5 separate regions of the Homo sapiens genome follow, and all the other regions are linked to region 2. The links are contacts of gene promoters, found by promoter capture Hi-C in blood cells and fetal thymus (Javierre and others, 2016). All regions are on one chromosome and are shown on one strand. Each heading gives the region's core, a stretch centred on a gene start or on the middle of the fragment in contact. The rest is flanking DNA. Distances are from core to core; before and after follow the strand shown. Region 1 holds the start of IL1RL1 (interleukin 1 receptor like 1). Region 2 holds the start of SLC9A4 (solute carrier family 9 member A4). Region 3 overlaps SLC9A2 (solute carrier family 9 member A2). Region 4 has its middle 61 kb from the start of IL1RL1. Region 5 overlaps SLC9A2 (solute carrier family 9 member A2).

The links. Contacts are between HindIII fragments. The CHiCAGO score rates a contact against its expected background, and 5 or more counts as called.
Region 1: a contact is called between the fragment with the promoter of IL1RL1 here and the fragment with the promoter of SLC9A4 in region 2, in 4 of 17 cell types (activated CD4 T cells, neutrophils, naive CD8 T cells and 1 more). The highest score is 7.7, in activated CD4 T cells.
Region 3: a fragment that was not itself captured here is called in contact with the fragment with the promoter of SLC9A4 in region 2 in 1 of 17 cell types (M2 macrophages); the score reaches 5.3 in M2 macrophages.
Region 4: a contact is called between a fragment that was not itself captured here and the fragment with the promoter of SLC9A4 in region 2, in 2 of 17 cell types (M1 macrophages and M0 macrophages). The highest score is 6.2, in M1 macrophages.
Region 5: a fragment that was not itself captured here is called in contact with the fragment with the promoter of SLC9A4 in region 2 in 1 of 17 cell types (endothelial precursors); the score reaches 5.2 in endothelial precursors.

What each region holds. Positions count from the first base shown.
Region 1 is chr2:102,310,227-102,312,926 of GRCh38, forward strand. It overlaps IL1RL1 (interleukin 1 receptor like 1), which reads left to right and starts at 1,337. Exons shown (of 11, transcript NM_016232.5): 1 at 1,337-1,397. The HindIII fragment of the contact is 5,145 bases long and covers 1-2,638 here.
Region 2 is chr2:102,471,937-102,474,636 of GRCh38, forward strand. SLC9A4 (solute carrier family 9 member A4) reads left to right here and starts at 1,290. Exons shown (of 12, transcript NM_001011552.4): 1 at 1,290-2,079. The coding sequence starts at 1,824. The HindIII fragment of the contact is 5,984 bases long and covers 1-2,700 here.
Region 3 is chr2:102,687,117-102,689,918 of GRCh38, forward strand. The region is part of intron 5 of SLC9A2 (solute carrier family 9 member A2); the gene reads left to right. Among named protein-coding and RNA genes, the nearest start is that of SLC67A2, 48 kb to the right of the region's middle. The HindIII fragment of the contact is 6,337 bases long and covers 1-2,802 here.
Region 4 is chr2:102,249,064-102,251,763 of GRCh38, forward strand. It overlaps the pseudogene CFAP144P2. Among named protein-coding and RNA genes, the nearest start is that of IL1RL1, 61 kb to the right of the region's middle. RefSeq lists an enhancer at 1,600-2,193. The HindIII fragment of the contact is 2,748 bases long and covers 62-2,700 here.
Region 5 is chr2:102,636,090-102,638,789 of GRCh38, forward strand. All of the region lies in intron 1 of SLC9A2 (solute carrier family 9 member A2), which reads left to right. Among named protein-coding and RNA genes, the nearest start is that of SLC9A2, 18 kb to the left of the region's middle. The HindIII fragment of the contact is 1,587 bases long and covers 494-2,080 here.

The DNA of each region.
Region 1 (2,700 bases), core at 87-2,586, 160 kb before region 2:
GCACCGTGGTGCAGTCTTGGCTCACTGCAACCTTTGACTCCCGGGTTCAAGCAATTCTCGTGCCTCAGCCTCCTGAGTAGCTTGGATTAGAGGTGTGCACCATCACACGCAGCAAATTTTTGTATTTTAGTAGAGACGGGGTTTCACCATGTTGGCCAGGATGTTGGGATTACAGGCGTGAGCTACCATGCCCTGCCAGAAGGTTTGTTTTTATTTTAAACACAATTGTGCTGGGTGTGATAGGATGGGTATATGATAGAGCAGAAAATCACTAGTATTTCATCAATATGGATAGCATCCTCCATAGGTTACTGATTTAATATTGACAACAATACCCTTCACACGAGAGAGAGGTTAGAGAATTTGCCCAAAGTCAAGCAGCTGGGAAGAGGAAAACTAGGCTGTGCTCTCCCTAAATCTCATGCTCTATTATATTAGGGAAGACTCTGGCAGATGGCACATCCTGATTATTTGAAAGTCACCAATATTTTTAGAAATTGCATAGATAATTAAGGTTAGTTTATCCAGAATTCTAATAATTGCAGCACATGTCCATAAATCTCTATTACAACCACCTGAGATAGGCCATCTCGGGCATGTGGAAAAAGCCCAGGTATAGACACTTTGGATCCTGGATTTCCCTTGTACTGGCTGCTACCTTGGGTAAGGTAATTCTCCTCTCTGAAGCTCCTGTCAGCTTCTGAGGATTGCGTGGGATAGCACATACCAAATTACTGCACACAGAGCCTGGTGTACACTTAAGCACACGAGATGTGTCAAAGTTTTCAAAAACATTGCCAACGAGGCATCAGTTACAAAACTTGCTGCAGAGTGAGCTGATATTGTGCCACTGCACTCCAGCCTGGGTGACACAGTGAGGCTTTGCCTCAAAAAAAAAAAAAAAAAAAAAAGAAAGAAACACCAAATAAGCAACTTGCTGCAGAAATGGGTACTCTTGTTCTAGAAATGTGACTATAGGGAAGTTACAACTACCAACTCGCGTTAAGGGAAATGAGTGACCTGCCACCTACATGGTGTTAGGGAGGTTTTGCTGAGAAAGTCACTCATGAAGAAGGCAAAATATAGTTAAGACAAAATGTAACTATCTATAGAGATAAGGTAAAAATTGGAAATAGAACTTCATTAAAGATCTTTCAAATAGGGAGAATGTGGTGAAAACTGCAGTTAACATTTGTTAACAGTGTGATCATCGGGTTCAGCTTATCAGTAACCTGGTTCCTGTCTCTTAACTGATAAAGAAAATGGGAGGTTTTTAAAGAGAGGCTGGCTGTTGTATTTAGTAAAGCTATAAAGCTGTAAGAGAAATTGGCTTTCTGAGTTGTGAAACTGTGGGCAGAAAGTTGAGGAAGAAAGAACTCAAGTACAACCCAATGAGGGTAAGTGGCTTTGGGGTATTTTTCAAAAATACTTTTATCTCAAAGGGAACAAAATTTTCACATACGAATTTAGGTCATTATAACAATAATATTCATTGTTATATTATTATAACATTATATGTTATAATAATATATAATATATATAATATATAATTGTTATAACATTATAACAATTATATATTATATATAATACAATTATATAATATATATTATATAATTGTAATATATAATATAATTATATAATATATATTATATAATATAATATATAATATATCATATATGTTATATATTTTATTATATAATATATATTATATATAATATTATATATAATATATATTATATATAATATTATATATAATATATATTATATATAATATATTTATATATATTATATATAATATATATTATATATTAAATATTATATATATAATATATATAACATTATTGTTATAATGTTATAACATTATTATATATTAAATATAATATATATAATATTATATTTATATTGAGGAAAACATTCACTCAATGACAGAGGGAAGACTTAGCTTTCCAAACAATCTTCTGTTAAAAGAAAAACTTTAGCTGAATTAAATTTAAAGGAGTTTAATTGTGTTTTGGTGCCTTATGCAAATGAAGGGCCTATAATATAATATATAATGTAATATATATAACATTATAACAATAATAATCATTGTTATCAATTTTGCTTGTGAGAAAAGTAGTATTACCAATGGGAAAATCATGGTACAGATTGATGAAATCCCTTGAAATCTTGTTTGTGTAATATGGGACTTTGGTCCAACGTGTTGGAAAAGACCTGGTTGAGGGTAAGAAAGGATGGGAGCTTTATAGTATACACACAGAGTGCTCATATTCTGGAGTTATTCTTTCTGAAATCCACAAAATCCAGCAGTGTAATCTACTCAGATGGAGATGAAGGAAAAAAACAAAACAAATGAAGCAAGAAGCTGCTGGCCAAAAGGGGTGAGGAAGCAGGGTCATACCCATCTGCAAGAAGAAAATAGAGAACGGACATGAGAGGGGTGGATATGAGGATATGAGAAGGCCCTCTTGAGTGAGGGCCATTGTTTCTGGAGGGGTGGGGAGTGAATGACTGATGTAAGTTCAAGTTTGTTGCGGGTGCCTGCTTTGATCCTCTGCTTGGTGGCTCCATTCTTCTTCTCTCTGAAGGCTACTTCAACAGAGGGTGCAGAGGTAAACATAGCAGAACTGGCCCCCAAAGCTTTATCCACTGAATGTCAGTTTTTCCTTTAATTTCTTCCAGGCATAAGGAAATCGGAGG
Region 2 (2,700 bases), core at 40-2,539:
ATAAAACACCTATTATAAAGCAGCTTTCTATTAAAGGATATTCATATATTCTTTGAGAAAAAATAATCGACTCAATATGTGTACCCTTCTTGTAGTCCACCTGATAGTCTCATTTCAGTGACTGAATCTAATCTATTCTGGAGTCAAACTGAAGGAAAAAGAAAAAATATTCATATGTGAACTTTTAATTCTATTGCCTCACTATGAATTTGCATCTAGGTGTTAGCCCTTCTCAACCATTCCTTTCTCAATTTCCCAGTGATGTTAGCTGAGTGTGTGTGTGTGTGTGTGTGTGTGTGTGTGTGTGTGTGTGTGTGTGTTGGCTGGGGGGAAATCCCCTGCACTCACTAATATGAACTAAGAAAAAACAAAACACAAAGCATCTTGCAGTTTGATGTAAAAGAGATGTTGGGGTAGTATATGGATGATGTATTATTCTCATTTTTTACTGAGTATCAGTAATCATTGCAAAAGTGTTGTATCTTATCCTAAAAGTATAAGAAATGTAATTTAAAATAAAAACTAACATTTAAGTGCCAACTACATGCCAAATTCTTTACTTGCTTTATCTCATTTAATGTTCCTAGCTACTCAATGAGGCAGATATTTTCCTCTCTGTTTCAGATAAGGAATTTCTGAAAGGTAATTAACTTCACCAAGGTCACCTGGCAACAAGTAGAAGAGCGAGAAGTAGGCTCATAAAAATTATCTCAAAATTCTTTCATCAACATTCTATGATGCTGCTTCTTTTTAACAACAACAAATGTTTTTTAAATGGAAAATCTGGATGTGCCATGGAGTTTTACAAATCCAGGTATTTAGGTGTATTTATGGAACTTGTTCTTTGGCTTCCTGTTTTTTAAAAATTATAGTGTAAAGTTCATAGAGATCTGGAACTTCATTCCTTCTATGAATGACTGCTCATGGAGTCTGGTAACATGCAAAAGTTTCAGTGTTTGCTACCATCCTTGTTGTTACCACCTCCTTCTTATCCTCCTTCTTCCTCATGTATAGAGACCATATAAGACAGTTTGCTGGACAATTCTGGTTTGTGCCTATAGCTTTGCATAATTATCATTATTATTCATTCCCCAAAGTGTCCTGGTTTAGATAATTTCATGGTCACCTTAACGTTCATAACTGAAAGTGTCAAGGGTGTTGTATTGCAGGTGCCCACTAGGTGTCAGCAGTGTGACCTCCAGAGAACCCTCAGAGAAAGGATTTCATTACAAAAGTCAAATCAAAGCAAATAATTAAGTGTAGTTCCAGAGCTACCTGAAGCCGTGGTCATTCAAAACAAATGAGAGGACAGGGGGAGGAGAGAAGGAACAAGCGCAGATCAGGTAGCTCCTTCTTGGGATCTGATAGACAGGGAAGGTTTCCTTTCCTCATTAGAAGGACTCCAGTGATCTGTGGAATGAGCACTACAGTATCCTTTTAAATTTTCACCCACAAGACAAAGCCAGTATGCAGTGAAATGAGGAAATGCCTTTAAGTGAAGAGATTTTTATTTCTTTCATAAATTGCTCAAGCCATGATTGGATGGAGGTCCTCCAGGTAGCTCCATGGACTTTAACAAGTCTATTGAATAACTGCATTTGAGTTGGAAGCTGAGTTGCCTGAACACAAACGATTTAAACCAGATTAGAAAGTGTCTACATACAGAGCTCAATAACACACTCGGAATCTTCTTGGGAGGACCCACAGACTGTACCTATATTACTTTTGACCCAGGTGGATGCAGTCACTCTCTAGAAGCCTCCCCGACTTCAGATGTGTGGCACACATCCACACAGGGGTGTAGGTAGGAGAAGCCCACAGGAATGGCTCTGCAGATGTTCGTGACTTACAGTCCTTGGAATTGTTTGCTACTGCTAGTGGCTCTTGAGTGTTCTGAAGCATCTTCTGATTTGAATGAATCTGCAAATTCCACTGCTCAGTATGCATCTAACGCTTGGTTTGCTGCTGCCAGCTCAGAGCCAGAGGAAGGGATATCTGTTTTTGAACTGGATTATGACTATGTGCAAATTCCTTATGAGGTCACTCTCTGGATACTTCTAGCATCCCTTGCAAAAATAGGTAAGTCCTTAAACACCTGGTTTGGTGAGTTATCTTTTTACATAAGATAGTGAATGTGAAAATGCCTTATAGATAACGGGCTAAGAGGATTTTAACTGTTACTGCTATTACATTAAAAATTCTCTTCCCTTCAGTCAAGGGAAAGTCATAACTGCATTTTACTAAGCTATTTAATACTTTGAGATTGCTCTTTGAAATTTGAGAGCATACTTCTGGGTACTGGGCTGTGTTGGTTTCTTCTCATTTCAGGGTGACAACCATGTGACATTGTTGACATGCAAAACTCTCAAATTCTATGCTTTAAAAATATAGAGAATAAAGCACGTAGACCTGGGCATGATGCAAGGTGGAAATTTCAGGAAACACATAATGTTTCTTCTGTAAAATATTCTTGGCTGTGTAATTGTGGGCTTCATCAATCACCCCATTGTTTATTCTTTAAAAGTAGCGTGTGCTTCTTGCAAATTGACAGAAAGCAAAAAACAAGAAAACCATAGGCAACTTGTATTACTCAGTGATGGGATGTCGGGGCATATAAGATTATATCTGTCAGTAAAATATTAGTTTATACCTACCAAGTGGGGCCAGTGAGGCACCTCTAATTTCCTTTGTGAAATAAAG
Region 3 (2,802 bases), core at 154-2,653, 220 kb after region 2:
AAATTGCTGCGGTTCCACTTGTGTTGATATCTTCTTTTTCCTTTTCTCTGCCTACCCTTCTGTGTGCACAGATCGGAGACTGCGTGCATATTGCTTGGTTCCATGACTCTGACCACTTCCTCTTCCTCCTATTCTCCTACCTACCACTGGTTCTTAAGATACTCTGAACACACACACGTGCACAAGCGTGCATGCACCCACACACACAAATACACACATACTCCCTTCAGAAAAGATATCTTTTCCAGAATACATCAATAATTAAGGAATTCAGTGAAGGAAGCCTGGAGGGAAATACTTGATGAGATATAAATATAGCAGGAATAACTAATTATACATCCATGCATAAAATATTGCCTTTCAAGTAAGAATTATGTATTCTTTTTCAAACGATGACTTTTATGTTGATGGACCAATTACTAAACTTTAAATATGTTTTTCTCCCCTTATTTCAATATTTTATATGATAAGCTCTTCCAACCTGGTACTACTGAGTTATAACTATCTTCAAAAATAGGATTTCACATGATGTATGATGCATTATTTGATATCATAGTTTATCATGAGAATTTTCACATTGTTTGAATCGTGTTGCTTCTTAGCAAGCGATGTAGTCCCTTTATGAGGCACACTATCATGTTGTCAGAATATGGTGCTGTTTGGGGAATTTTTTTTTTTTTGAGACAGAGTGTCACTCTGTCACCTAGGCTGGAGTGCAGTGGCACGATCTTGGCTCACTGCAACCTCTGCCTCCTAGGTTCCAGCGATTCTCCTGCCTCAGCCTCCCTGAGTAGCTGGGATTACAGAAATCCACCATCACGCCCAGCTAATTTTTATATTTTTAGTAGAGATGCGGTTTCGCTGTGTTCGCCAGGCTGGTCTTGAATTCCTGGCCTCAAGTAATGCACCCACCTTGGCCTCCCAAAGAGCTGGGATTACAAGCGCGAGCACCACCATGCCCGGCCGTGGAATATTGAATGAGGAAACAATTCTGATTCCTTGGACATTTGAGTTCATTTTTTTCCAATATGATTGGTAATGTTATTTATATCAAATATAAGCTATTTCTCATACATGTAAATTATATTCAAAATTGGGGAGGGTGAAATACAGTTACATAAAGTGCAGTTTTAGAGTAAGACTATTGTGGGTTGATACTCTAAGCCTGCTTTTTGCAGCCTCTGTGGGCCTCAGTTTACTTAGCTGTAAAATCTAGACAATGCTCCAGGCAGCTCAGGGGAAATATGTGTATAGAGTATGACACCTGACACAGGGTTTTTGCCTCACGAGTTGCCATGTTTAATATACTACATTAAGAAAAATTATAACGAGGCCATGTGCAGTGGCTCACGCCTGTAATTCCAGCACTTTGGGAGGCCAAGGCGGGTGGATCACGAGGTCAGGAGATCAAGACCATTCTGGCCAACATGGTGAAACCCTGTCTCTACTAAAACTACAAAAATTAGCTGGGCATGGTGGCACGTGCCTATAATCCCAGCTACTCGGGAGGCTGAGGCAGGAGAATCGCTTGAACCAGGGAGTCAGAGGTTGCAGTGAGCCGAGATTTTGCCACTGCACTCCAGCCTGGCGACAGAGCAAGACTCTGTCTCAAAACAAACAAACAAACAAAAAAAGAAAGAAAACTTGTAACGAAAGAAAGAAAAAGGTAAGTTCTTTCAATATATTTTTCTTTGGAAGGAAAAATGATTAGAATACAATAATTATTATGTAGTTAATCCCTATAATAAAAAGGGGCAGATCTCAAGAATTCTGTAAACGTACTAAGTGGTTATCTAGAAGTCCATCAAGTGGGAAAGTTAACCAAAATTCAAGAGATAGCAGCCTCTTTTGCACATTAGTGATGTAACTTAGGTTAAGTCACGGTGCAGAACTGCGAAGCATCTGGGGTTTTATTATACTTGTAAGCTAACAAGTTCGCCTGTTACTATTTCATGAATGCTACAGAAGACTCCTGAGTCAGAGACAAAGGACTTTATTGTCCATGACAAGAGCTGTAGCCACAGCCTTGTGTTGGTTTGTGTCAGTTTTCCACACCTCCTTGTCCCATGGGGGTGACACAAGGGACCCGCGATGGATGTCTGCCCATGTCATGGGCTGTATTGCAGGAGGGGGATATATTTGAGTTTGGGGATATATTGCTCTCTCAGAAGGGTGACCTTACTTCATTTCTCAAGAGTGCTCATTGCTTGCAACCCTAAGAAATGCTCCAGGTAAAAAAGTCATCAAGGCCTGACATTCTTGGCATCCCCTGCAAGAACATGTTGGGGTGCTTAGGGCCCATGGTGGGGTAGCCTCTCCCAGCAATTACATGAATCTTTGCTGATTTAGCCTCTCCAACTGGAATGATGATGCTCACTATTTTATAGACCTTGTGAAGACCCTCAAATGTGCCTTCATTTGTCAAATAAATGGTCATATTTTTATATATGTACTGTTTAAAAAGGACACCATCTTTATATTTCATTAACATATGCCATTATTAGGTGGGGTTCCATAGAATTTAGAATACTTTACAACAATCCTACAATAAAACGAGCAAGATGATCAGGCTTTTTTAAGATGGAACAATGTAGGTGAAAAGTTTAGGATATGAGAAGAAGAGCAGTATAAGACAGTTCCATGTGTTTTTGACTGCGCAGCCAGGGGAATGAAGGTGACATTTAATTTGGTGGGGACTACCTGGAGAGTATTAGGTTTGAAGGATGGGACATCATGTGCTCAGTTTTGGATGTGTCCATTTTGGACATATATATTTGCCTATTAGACATCTAAGTGGAGATG
Region 4 (2,700 bases), core at 186-2,685, 220 kb before region 2:
ATAGACTACACTTTGGGTATGAGCAGTACATTTTCTCACCCTTCCTTTGATTCCACTAGGAAGCTTCCTGTGTGCATTTGGCTCCTGTGAGTCCATGCCCAGGCTTGGTCAACCCTAACATGGTACAGCTTGCACAGTTTGTAGGCAGCTTTGCAACACAGGATAGATGAACCTAAATCCTCGGAGATTCTTTTCAGCTGGATTAGGTGGGAAAAATTGTCTCTCTCTTGCTCCCTCTCCTACTCTGTCTCTGAAATGTGGGTATAGCTTTGCTGGTAGCAGTCTTTCCTTCCACAAGGATAGATTTTGTTAGCGTCAAGAATGAATCATGTCAAAAGTGAAGAGTCAAGAGATAAGCAGAATCAGAGAAGGAAAGAGAGACCAAGAGAGATCTGTGACATTGTTTGAGTCCCTGGATCCTGTCATGCCTGAATTCCTTGGAACTCTGAAGTTTAGGAGTTAACTATTTCTCATTTCTGCTTAAATTTGGTTTCTGTTTCTCACAATGGAAATAATCCTAACAAATACAAGCCTCAATATGTTAGTCTTTTCCTGCAGACTTCTTTCTGATTGATATCACTGTAGCAATGTGAATTTTTCTATGAAATCATGTAAGTTTCTCTCCTTGGAAAAGAGATTAAAAAGCCATACTAGGTTTGGGGTTCCTATCATAAGTGTGTTTGGGTATAAATTATACAATGGCTCAAAAGTAACATAAAAAATTTATTTTTGGGGGCAGTGCACACTTAAGGCATGAAATCCGGCGCCTCAGTCCACTGCTGGGATGCCACTGGTGGCCATCATCTCCTCCCAGGCTCCACATCTGAGCCTTGTACAGAGCGATGTCATTGCAGACCCTGCAGTGGTTCAGCCTGCAATCTGGGCATTCTGGGTTGAGGGGGGGGCACTGAGTCCCATGCACTTTCCTGGTTTTCGGTCTGTGTCTGGGTCCCTCTTCCTTGGTCCCTGGGCAGCGTGGTGAATGAGATTCCGAAACCTGGCGTCTCCAGGCTCCTCCAGGTTACCATGCCAAGACATGGGCTTCCTGGTGATCTGTGGACCTCGTGGAGGGGTTCACGTGATACCGCGCATAGACGTTCTGGGCTGGTAGCCCTTTGAGGTACAGCTCCTGCAAGATCTGGTTCTGACGGACCTCATCCTGGATCACCTTCTCCCTGGGGTGTCCCGCCATGGCCTTGGCATTGCTCCATCGGGTTCGATGCGCTCTCTGCTCCCTTGTGCCTCTCTCCCTGGCCCCGGGCTTCTGCCTTCTCCAGGCAACGGTGTCCCACACGGTCTCCAGGCTACAGCACTCCCACAGCCCCAGCTCCTGGCGACCCAGCCCTTACCCCAACCGCCCGTGGACACCTCCAGGAAAGGGCTTCCTGTCACGGGACAGACCCGGAGGTCATGGGCATGTGGTTAGGCCTCACCTTGGCCAGTCGTTTCTCTCCCAGCGAGCAGAGGCGCTGCTTCCTCGTGCTCTCCCTTCTCTGTCTCGGGCCTGCAGTTTGCTCCGTGGTTCCAGACCAAGGCCCACGGGGAAGCCATTGCCAAATGCAGAGGCTGGCGCGGCTGGCTGAGCAGGCAGCGGAGGCCGAGGGTGGGTGTCCGTGGTCCTGCGTCCCCGTGTCCACAGCCAGGCCGCGGGGACCCTAGGGTCCGCTCCTTCGCTGCCCGAGCACGGTGCCTGCAGGGGCCCCTCCGTGGGGTCGTGGATCGTCAGGGCCGCGTGGGTGGCTGGGCGGGGGCGGGCTGTAGGCAGCTTCTAAAAGCAGGGGCTGGGCGGGGGCGTGGGGGGATAGGGAGGGACGTAGTGGAAGTTGGGGCCCCAACGGACATGAGGGCGGCAGATGCAGATCTTATGAAGATTCAGGCAGGAAGAGCTCGGCAGGGCGATGCCCAAGACGGGGTAGTGGACGGGGACGAATTGGTTCAGAGACGGGTAGCAGATGGGGCAGAAGGACGAGTAGGTGGGCTGGAACAGGAGCGTAGTCTGCGGGTCCAGAAACGGGGGACGGATGGGAGGAAAGAAGAGCCGACTGCCAGGGAGCTGCGGGGTGGCGCCGAGCGGGCGCCGGGGTTGGGAGGCGGAGAGGCGGGGCAGCTTTCGAGTCATTTTCAGCGAGTGCAAAGCTCCCTCGTCGGAACGGTCGGAGTGCGCGGCGAGCGCGGGGCCTGCGCGGCTTTTATCTCCTCAGGGCGTTCCAGGGCGGAACGTGCTTTGTGACCTGCGCCCCCCGTGAAGCCGGGAGCCCCTCGCGAGTTGGCACAGGGCCCCGTCTCAGGGTTTAGGAGCGAACGGGGAAATGGAAGACAAAGGAAATGGGGGGACATAGCAACCCCTATTCTTGTACCCTGTAGTTTTGCCCTCAGTAGGCAAAGGCTGATCAGAGGGCTAGGATACAGTTAGAGGCCGGGGGCCTGGGGGAGCGGCTCTGAGCAGGATCTGGGAAAAGGGGACGAAGTCAGTGCCCCAGGCACCTTCCCTTAAGACAGCGCAGCGTTCAAAGCCCTTCAGTCCTTCACATCACTGCGGGAACATGCGCAATTAGACATGCTAGGTCCATTTTACCCATGGGACAGGAAGGACCAGAGAGGGAACTTCCATAGGCTGGCGGTGGTGACAAAGCAGGTGGGGCTAGAACTTGGGTCAGGAGAGGGCAGGTAGGAGGGAAGGCAAAATGCCCCAAGCGCGCA
Region 5 (2,700 bases), core at 37-2,536, 160 kb after region 2:
CTGTAGAACTATATGGAACTGTAAGAATCTCCATGAATCTTTAAAATACACATCCCAATACATACTCATTGAAACCCCTTTGATTTTTGCAACCATAAGCAAATGGGAAGACAAAGACCACCAACTTGGTAACAGAAGTCAGGGAGGAGGGAAAGGGAATGAAAGGGATAGTATTCTAGCAAGCTTGGAAAATACAGTCTTTTACCAAATGGGATAGTTTCTTAGTTTAGCCTGAGCCAACAGTGTGCAAATATTTCCCTGCCATGTAAATAACTGGTGAATGCAGTTAAGTGTTAGCAACCACTTAATTGAAAAATGAAATCAGGTAGCAATTACTGGCAATTGTGGGTTCCTTCACTATACTTTGATCTACGTATTTTGAGCAAGTGGTAAATTTGCTTAGAAGGCAAGCTCTTGAAGGAAAAGAAACCAGAAAACAGAAAATATGGTTCCCACACAAGGCGGTTAGGTGGGTGGGGTAGAGTCCCTGGAAAGCTTTATATGGCTTAATGATAGCAGTGTGCAAACAGCAAAGCCAAAATTGGCATAAATCGTTTACTAACACATGAGTTGAGAGAACGATAAATCCTAAGATTTAACATCTAGCCTGGGGCAGTAGAATAAAAATTGCTTTCAACTGCTGGCTGGCATGGGAAGTTCTGACTCTAGGTTATAGTGTACCAGAGTCTTTATCAGCACTGGCACGCCCTAGTGGCCCTTCCCCCAGCTTAACTAAGCTGTGCAAAGGATCTGTTCAGAAATAGTCACTAGAACTTGTCAACCCCTTGGACTCTGTAACTCCTCCTAAACACTGTCTAGGCACTGGCAAGTTTTACCTTCAGAATGATCTCTTCAAATTGAGTCCTTCCTTGGTCAAACCCCTTCATCAGATTGTGTTTCTAAAATGGGAGGGTTGGAAGAAAGGAAGAAAAGAAAAAGAAAAAGTGGAGGGCTTAGAGCCTTGAGGAGATGAAAAAGTTAAAGATGGGTGGAATCACCGAAGATCCGTTGAATCTGTTTCATAGCTGTGAGACCTATACCTGCAGTCCTAACAGACTGAGAGCAAGCTCTGTGACTGCTTCACCTGCCGTTCCTCACAGGAAACTGGAGTCCCAGAGTTTTCTAAATAAGAATACTCCGCATGTCCAAGGGCAGCTCTCAGTATTTAATAGCGAGGATCCTGTTTCCCACCTGGCTGTATGAGAAATTCCCTTGCCATCTGTAGAGTCCTTTTCTCAGCTTGGGAGACACAAGTTTCACACCCAGATAGAATACATGCTGAAATACTTTGAAAACTGGCCAGTGCCATCGTTATTATTTCCTGGGGCACAGTTGCAGTGCCAGCACAACTAAGCCAGTGATCATTTCCGAGCTGTCCAGTGGGTGTGGTGTGGGTTACAGAAAGAATATAATGCAGGCAGTGAGGTGACCAGGGCATGAGTCAAATCCTGCGCCCAACCCTGGCTTGGGTATCAGAGTAGGATTCAGCTGCCTCCAGTGAAAAAGAGACTCCCAGGGCAGCAGAGCCACCTACCTGCAGAAGTGAACTTCACCAGCTCTGTGTGCTGTACTGGACCTGCCAGAGATCTCACCCCATTGATAAAAACCAACTGCAGTGCCCCAGCTGGGACAGGGAGGCACCCCTGGCCCGTGAGGAGATGGTCCCTCACTCATCTGCTTAAAGGATGGGAAATCTGTTACCTAATTCATGGAATCTCTGCCTAAGTTGTGTTCTCATTGCTGTGGTTGAGACTAGAAGGAAGGAGTCTAAAAAGATAGACATGTAGCTGTCAGTGTGGGCCCTGTTGGTGCCTCTTCATGCCCTGAGAGATGGGAGGGGTTACGGGGAGCAAGCTGGACAGCCAGCTCTTGCCCTGCCCAAGCTCCAGCTGATGGCCACTTTGCAGAAATTGGCATAAGATGGGTGACAAAAGCCCAGTTTTGCTGATTTTCCAAGATAACTTGGACAGAAGAATTTACATGTGGATCCTCTCAGTTTCTCAATATGAGCTCAATCTTTGAACCCACTAGATAGGCCCAACAAAATAGGCGTGAAGGCCATGGTGGCTCGTGGCCTGCAAGCTTGCAAACTCTGCTTCAGACTTTTCATGTTACATGAAATTTTGCTTCTTGTCTTTATACCTGGGTATATTTAAAAGGGCTGAGCTGATTATGTGGGACACTTAGGGACTCAGGATCAGTTGGAATATGTTTTATAGTCAAGTTAACACTGATCAAAATGAGTATTATTCTCAGAAATTGATCATGTTACAAAAAGACAAATAAATAGAAATGGTTGACATACTCTGACCATTGACAAATGTGGGAAGGACACTATGGAATATCTAAGGGAAAGGGGTTTATGCTTCCCACCTTGAATAAGAAGCACAAGCCAAAGGGAAGCTGAGCTGGGATTGCACTCAGGAGGCACTGTGTTAAGTCACACAATGAGTTCATCGTCTGTGAAAGGTAAACTCTGTGGGTACATCAGTTATGGTCCTGGCAATTATTGATGTCTTGAATGAAAGTGTTCCTTATGCTCACTAAAGAGAGGCACTTTCCACTGCTTCTCAGCCTTTTGATCAAGTGTGGAGATGCACTTTCTTTAAAAATGTGTCTGTGAGTCTGGGCGCAGTGGCTTATGCCTGTAATCCCAACATTTTGGGAGGCCAAGGCAGGAGAATTGCTTGAGGCCAGGAG